2 separate regions of the Homo sapiens genome follow, and region 1 is linked to region 2. Evidence: promoter capture Hi-C in 16 types of primary human blood cells and fetal thymus (Javierre and others, 2016). All regions are on one chromosome and are shown on one strand. The core of a region is centred on a gene start or on the middle of the fragment in contact, and the rest is flanking DNA. Distances in the headings are between cores, read along the strand shown. Region 1 overlaps SARS1 (seryl-tRNA synthetase 1). Region 2 holds the start of PSMA5 (proteasome 20S subunit alpha 5).

Evidence for each region. The method cuts DNA at HindIII sites, captures the fragments that hold promoters and counts their contacts. A CHiCAGO score of 5 or more calls a contact.
Region 1: a fragment that was not itself captured here is called in contact with the fragment with the promoter of PSMA5 in region 2 in 2 of 17 cell types (fetal thymus and neutrophils); the score reaches 5.9 in fetal thymus.

Annotation. Positions count from the first base shown.
Region 1 is chr1:109,216,472-109,219,979 of GRCh38, forward strand. All of the region lies in intron 1 of SARS1 (seryl-tRNA synthetase 1), which reads left to right. Among named protein-coding and RNA genes, the nearest start is that of SARS1, 4.3 kb to the left of the region's middle. The HindIII fragment of the contact is 3,724 bases long and covers 1-3,508 here.
Region 2 is chr1:109,424,757-109,427,848 of GRCh38, forward strand. It overlaps PSMA5 (proteasome 20S subunit alpha 5), which reads right to left and starts at 1,692. Exons shown (of 9, transcript NM_002790.4): 1 at 1,546-1,692. The coding sequence starts at 1,574. RefSeq lists enhancers at 1,755-2,686, 2,193-2,252. The HindIII fragment of the contact is 5,034 bases long and covers 1-3,092 here.

The DNA of each region.
Region 1 (3,508 bases), core at 415-2,914, 210 kb before region 2:
TACACTTGGGCATATTTGTCTTGGCCCCACTCCCAAAGCAAATAGATTTCCATGTAACTGGAAATCTGCTGCAAACCCCAAGAATTTTATCCTCCCTCAAAAAGTGCTATCCTGAGTGGTTTTTTTTTTCTTTTTACTGTACATTGAAAATTGAAGTTGTTGTTTCCTTTTTTTTTAATTTGAGACAAGGTCTCACTGTGTCACCCAGGCATGATCACAGCTCACTGCAGCCTCAATCTCCCCAGGCTCAGATGATCCTCCTGCCTTAGACTTCTGACTAGCTGAGACTACAGGCGCAATGCCACCATGCCTGGCTAATGTGTGTATTTTTTGTAGAGATGGAGTTTCGTCATGTTGCCTAGGCTGGCCTCAAACTCCTGGCCTCAAGCGATCCTCCCACCTCGGCCTCCCAAAGTGTTGGGATTACAGGCATGAGTCACCATGCCCAGGCTAAAGCTGTTATTTCCTCATAACCTTTACTGCACATGTTTTAAAACAGGTCCTTATCATTGTTTGCCCCAGCAACTGGAATAGCTTTCTATCTGCTTTCAATCTTAACCCAGTCTCACCAGGGCATATAATCTTTCTAGAATGCAAATCTGATCATTTTACTTGAAGGCTTAAGTTTTGCAGTGACATACTTTAGAGCAGCACTGTCTGATAGGAATAGAATGTTAGCTTCATGTATACAGATGCTCCTTGACTTAGGATGGGTTTATGTCCCAATAAATCCACCATAAGTTGAAAATATTGTAAGTAAAAAATGCATGAAATACACATACCCTACTGAATATCATAGCTTAGCCAAGCCTACCTTAAATGTGCTCAGAACACTGATGTTAACCTACAGTTGGGAAAAATCATCTTACACAAACCCTATTTTATAATAAAGTGTGAATATCTCATGTAATTTATTACTATTGATCATAAAGTTTAAGCATTATAAGTTGGCGATAGTCTGTAATTGTTAATTTGTTTGTATCCAATATAAAAAATATAAAGAGAAACAGATGAAATTAATTTTAGTAATACATTTTATTTAACCTAGTCTTGTATACCCAAAAGTTATATATATATAAATATATATATAATTATTATTATTATTTTTAGACAGCGTCTTGTTCTGTTGCCTAGGCTGGAATGCAGTGGCATGATCACAGCTCACTGCAGCCTGGACCTCCTGGGCTCAACTGGTCCTCCCACCTCAACCTTCTAAGTAGCTGGGACCACAGGTGTGCACCACCATGCCCAGCTAATTTTTAATTTTTTGTAGAGACAGAGTCTCACTTTGTTGCCCAGGCTGGTCTCGAATTCCTGGACTCAAGTGATCCTCCCACTTCGACCTCCCACACTGCTGGGATTACAGGTGTGAACCACCACGCCCAGCCCCGAAATTATATTTTCAACACATAATCAGTATTTTTAAATTACTGAAACTAGCCCGGTGCGGTGACTCACTCCTGTAATCCCAGCACTTTGGGAGGCCGAGGCAGGCAGATCACAAGGTCAGGAGATCGAGACCATCCTGGCTAACACGGTGAAACCCCATCTCTACTAAAAATACAAAAATAATTAGCCGGGCATGGTGGGGGGCGCCTGTAGTCCCAGCTACTCGGGTGGCTGAGGCAGGAGAATGGCGTGAACCCGGGAGGCAGAGCTTGCAGTGAGCTGAGATCATGCCACTGCACTCCAGCCTGGGTGACACAGAGAGACTCTGTCTCCAAAAAAAAAAAAAAAAAAAAAAAATTAGCCAGGCGTGGTGGCGGGCGCCTGTAATCCCAGCTACTTGGGAGGCCGAGGCAGGAGAATTGCTTGAACCCGGGAAGCGGAGGTTGCAGTGAGCTGAGATCGTGCCATTGCACTCCAGCCTGGGGGACAAGGTGAGACTTCATCTGAAAAAAAAAAAAAATTACTGAAACTACTGAGATATTTTACTTTTTTTTTTTTTTTTTTGGTACAAGTCCTCAAACTCCAAAGTATGTTTTACACTTAAAGCACCACTCTGTTCAGGTGCTCATTTCAAATTTCAAATGCTCATAGTCACATGGTATTAAAAGCTACTATATTGGACAGTACAGCCTTAAAGCATAAAAATCCAAATTCCTGAACACAATTTACAAAGTCCCCCATGCCTTCCTGGCCTCGCTGTCTACCACTTCCCACATAGGGCCTCCCGCTCTTTGCTCTAGCTTATTGCTACTCCTAGACTCTTTCACACTTCTGTGACTGTTGCCTCTTCCTGGAATGCTCCTTATCAGGGTGTGCCACTCCCACTTCCAACGGCCCTCTTTGGCACTCAACTACTGTTGTAGTGCCACCTCATTTATTGAGTGCTCTCCTTATATTATCTTACAAATCTCTTACAGCATTTATACTATTCCTGTATATACCCTTCAAAAACTTATTTTTATTGACATAGATACAGTAAAGTACACAAATCTTAGTGTACAGGTTGATGAGTTTTCTAAATATATACACCAATGTAACACTTAGATCAAAATATAAGACATTTAGGCCGGGCGTGGTGGCTCACACCTGTAATCCCAGCACTTTGGGAGGCCGAGGCGGGCGGATCATGAGGTCAGGAGATCGAGACCATCCTGGCTAACACGGTGAAACCCCATCTCCACTAAAAATTCAAAAAATTAGCCGGGTGTGGTGGCGGGCGCCTGTAGTCCCAGCTACTTGGGAGGCTGAGGCAGGAGAATGGCATGAACCCAGGAGGCGGAGCTTGCAGTGAGCCGAGATCACACCACTGCAGTCCAGCCTGGGCGATAGAGCAAGACTCTCCATATATATATATATATATATATATATAGTGTACATATACAGTATATATATACACTATATATTTATATACACACTATATATATATATATATATGACATTTACAGCACACCAGCAGATTGCCTTATGCCACCTCCCAGTCAGCCCCTCCTCCAAAAATAATAGTATTCTTACCTCCATCACCATAAATTCCTTTGCCTGATTTTGAACTACATATAAATGGACTTATGTAGTATATACTTTTGCATATGGCTTCTTTCTTTTTTTTTTTTGAGACAGATTCTTGCTCAGTCACCCAGGCTGGTGTGCAGTGGCGTGATCTCAGCTCACTGCAACCTCCGCCTCCCGGGCTCACACCATTCTCCTGCCTCAGCCTCCCGAGTAGCTGGGATGACAGGCACCCACCACCATGCCTGGCTAATTTTTTTTGTATTTTATTAGAGCTGGGGTTTCACCATGTTAGCCAGGATGGTCTTGATCTCCTGACCTTGTGATCCACCCGCCTTGGCCTCCCAAAATGCTGGGATTACAGGCATGAGCCACCGCGCCCGGCATGGCTTCTTTCTTTCAAGATTATGTCTGTAAGATTCATCCATGTTATTAACATGTAGCAGTAGTTGGTTCTTTTCATTGCTATATAATACTCCATTATGTAAATATGCCAATCAATTCTACTAGCATATTTACTGCATGACATTTGGATAAACTGGGTTGTTACCGG
Region 2 (3,092 bases), core at 442-2,941:
GGCAGGTGGATCACGAGGTCAAAAGATCGAGACCATCCTGGCCAACATGGTGAAACCCTGTCTCTACTAAAAATACAAAAATTAGCTGGGAGTGGTGGCGCGCGCCTGTAGTCCCAGCTACTCGGGAGGCTGAGGCAGGAGAATCGCTTGAACCCAGGAGGCGGAGGTTGCAGTGAGCCGAGATCATGCCACTGCACTGCAGCCTGGCGACAGAGCGAGACTCCGTCTCAAAAACAAACAAAACCCAGGAGGGGGAGGTTGCAGTGAGCCAAGATCACGTCACTGCACTCCAGCCTGGGCCACAGAGCGAGACTGTCTCAAAAGAGTCTCCTATATGCGAGCAAGGAGCTTGATTTTGTCCATTGCTGTAGCACCAGCACCTAGAACAGTGCCTTGTTCACAGCAAGCACTCAAGCACATTAACTAAGAGAATAAAAAGGGATGTATTTTAGGCCGTCTTGGGAAGACAGAAAAATAAGTAACAAAGCAGTCAATACATATGTTAAGTAAATGGCCACAAAATTTAATAAATGCCTTCTGATAAGCATAACAATTTCTATCATACACACCCTAACTCAAAATTATGTCACCCGAAGATGATTCTCTTCAATGTTCTGGAAGTTAAATATCGACCAACAAAGTCACTTTATAGGACAGTGGGGAAATATGTCAAAACTTCACACACATCTTCTACGAGTCAGTAAAAAAGATGAAAAAGTGGTAACTGCAGGTGGTAAAACTTCGACAGGATCAGCATATACTTGACAGGAAATGCAGCATCTCATACCACTCAGTACAAAGAAAATGTCTGCCTTCCCTGACTTTAAAAAAGAGTAGCTATGTAAAAACTTAACTGACGAAAACAGAAACTGAAAGTAAAAATGTCTACAGCATATATATGTACAACTTAATATTGTGAACATTTTCATACCACAAAAGTTTTTTAAAACTTGCTTTAAACTTTTAAAAAGTCAGAAAAAATTTTGGTCAATTGGAATCGGCATGATGAGAAATCTCTTGAAAACCATTCTAAATTCCAGTTCCTATAAAATCAGACTCCAGACAATATATCCAGCCAAAGCTACGACTGCCTTCGCGCTTCTGAAGAAACTATACACCGCAGCATGCCCTACTACAAACCAGTTGCTTTTTCTTCCAGGAAGCACGTTTAACTTTTTGTTTGTTTGTTCAAGGCAGTCATACTAGGCACGAAAAGATGAACGGAGCAAAGAGTGACCCTTGGCCTTCTCCGGGTTCAAGGTAGGAGTTCCGGCTCCTCACGCCTTCTTTACCAAGCACCAGCCGGAGCTTCTCGCTTCCGCACCGAGTTAGGACCCAGGGGTGACTCAGCGGTAGGACAAGTGCCGCCGATGTGGTCTAGCTTGGGGAAGGACGGCGGGCGCCTGAGGAGGGCATAACATCCCCAGGTCCGGCCAGTCTCGGGTTCCTGGGGAGCCCCATGACACGGCAGAACCCAGGCCGCGCGGCCAGGTCCCGGGCCTGCCCACCCATAATTCCCACCCGACGTCCCCCAGCTGCACGGACCTGTCGTACTCAGACCGGGTAAGAAACATGGCGAGGGTAGGAGGAGGCAGCGGCTACGCGGGGATTCTGAGGACCAACACGACTCCACCGGCACCCAACTCACCGGCAGCCAACTCACCCACACGGCCGCAGTACTAAGGACCAACTGCGCGTGCGACCGCGACCTCTTTAGCCCGCCCTCCTGTGCCTGCTTCCTATTGGCTGGTAGTAGTTCCCGCCTAGGTGATTGGGCCAACGCGCTTCCTCACGAGGGCTTGGTTGGTCCGGAGGAGGAGGAGGACCAGGGAGGTACTTCCGCCTTAAATCGCGGGTGGTTGCTAGGGACGATAGGCACCCAAGGCGTGTAGTGAGTTCGCCTTGTAGAGAAGATGTGAGCCCGCCCCAAGACTGGCAATTGGAAAGGCTTGCATGCAGAGCTGGGTTGTCTGAACCCTGACATAATAGGTCCCTCGCCGGCTCCCGTAATCCCAGCTAGAGGACTTTGGTCCCGTTTCCGGCAAGGCCACCACCTGACTTCTCTTCGCAGGATTCCCTCTCTTAGGGTTCCTCCACGGTGTTCTCCATGCCCGGTCGAGGGCTCCAGGACTTTGGGCGGTAATGAGTCGGCTACAGTGGGTCTGAGCCGGCGCCGCGGACGAGTCCCTTCGTTTCAGCCAGTTTGGCTCGTTTATTGAGAAAAGTGGGGGGCGAGGGGTTAGTATGTAAGAAAGTCTTAAAGTTTCCACATGGTTAAGGTAATTTTATCAACTCTTTCTTGCACCCCTCCCCCTAGTACAGGTTTCAGACCTAAATAACCTAGAGTTCAGGATCCAGACTTCAAAATATTCACTGCTTTTTCTGTTGTTTGTGAAAAATAAGTGTTTTCTTTGAGCCCAGATCGTGCTATTGCACTCCAGCCTGGGCAACAGCCAAACCCTATCCGAAAAAAAAAAAAAAAAAAAAAGCGCTTTCTTTTTCGACGCTTCTTGCTTCCCTTCAATAAGTTGCTTGAGGAGCAACTTTGCAGCTTCGTAATAACACTGTAATTCAAGTATTTGTTCAAGAAAGGCAAGTAAGAAGTCTTGGCACGGGGGTGGGGAATATAGGGAAATGTTGGTCAAATGATACAAAGTTTCAGTCAGAGAAGGTGGATGAGTTCTATAGTTAATAATCATATATTGTGTACTTGAAATTGTGAAGAGGGTACACCTTAAATGTTCTCACCACAGGAAAGTATGTGAGATGATGGATTATGTTGATTAGCTTCATTTAATTATTTGCAGTGTGTGTGTGTATATATATGTATATCAAAACGTCACGTTGTATACCATAAACATGAACAATTTCTATTTGTCACTTACACCTTAAAGCTGGAGTCGGGGGAAAGAAATCATTTATCAGGCAGTATATGCTGGAAAGGGAAATGCCAGCATCTCATTTCCAGTTGTTAATGTGATACCACTAGTCAAGTCCTTAACCTCTCAAGGCCTGTATCTCTCCAGTAAAGTTCATTCTTGGTCCTAGATTAGGTTTGTAAGTCACCAAGGCATTTCAAAGGTGCAGGAAAT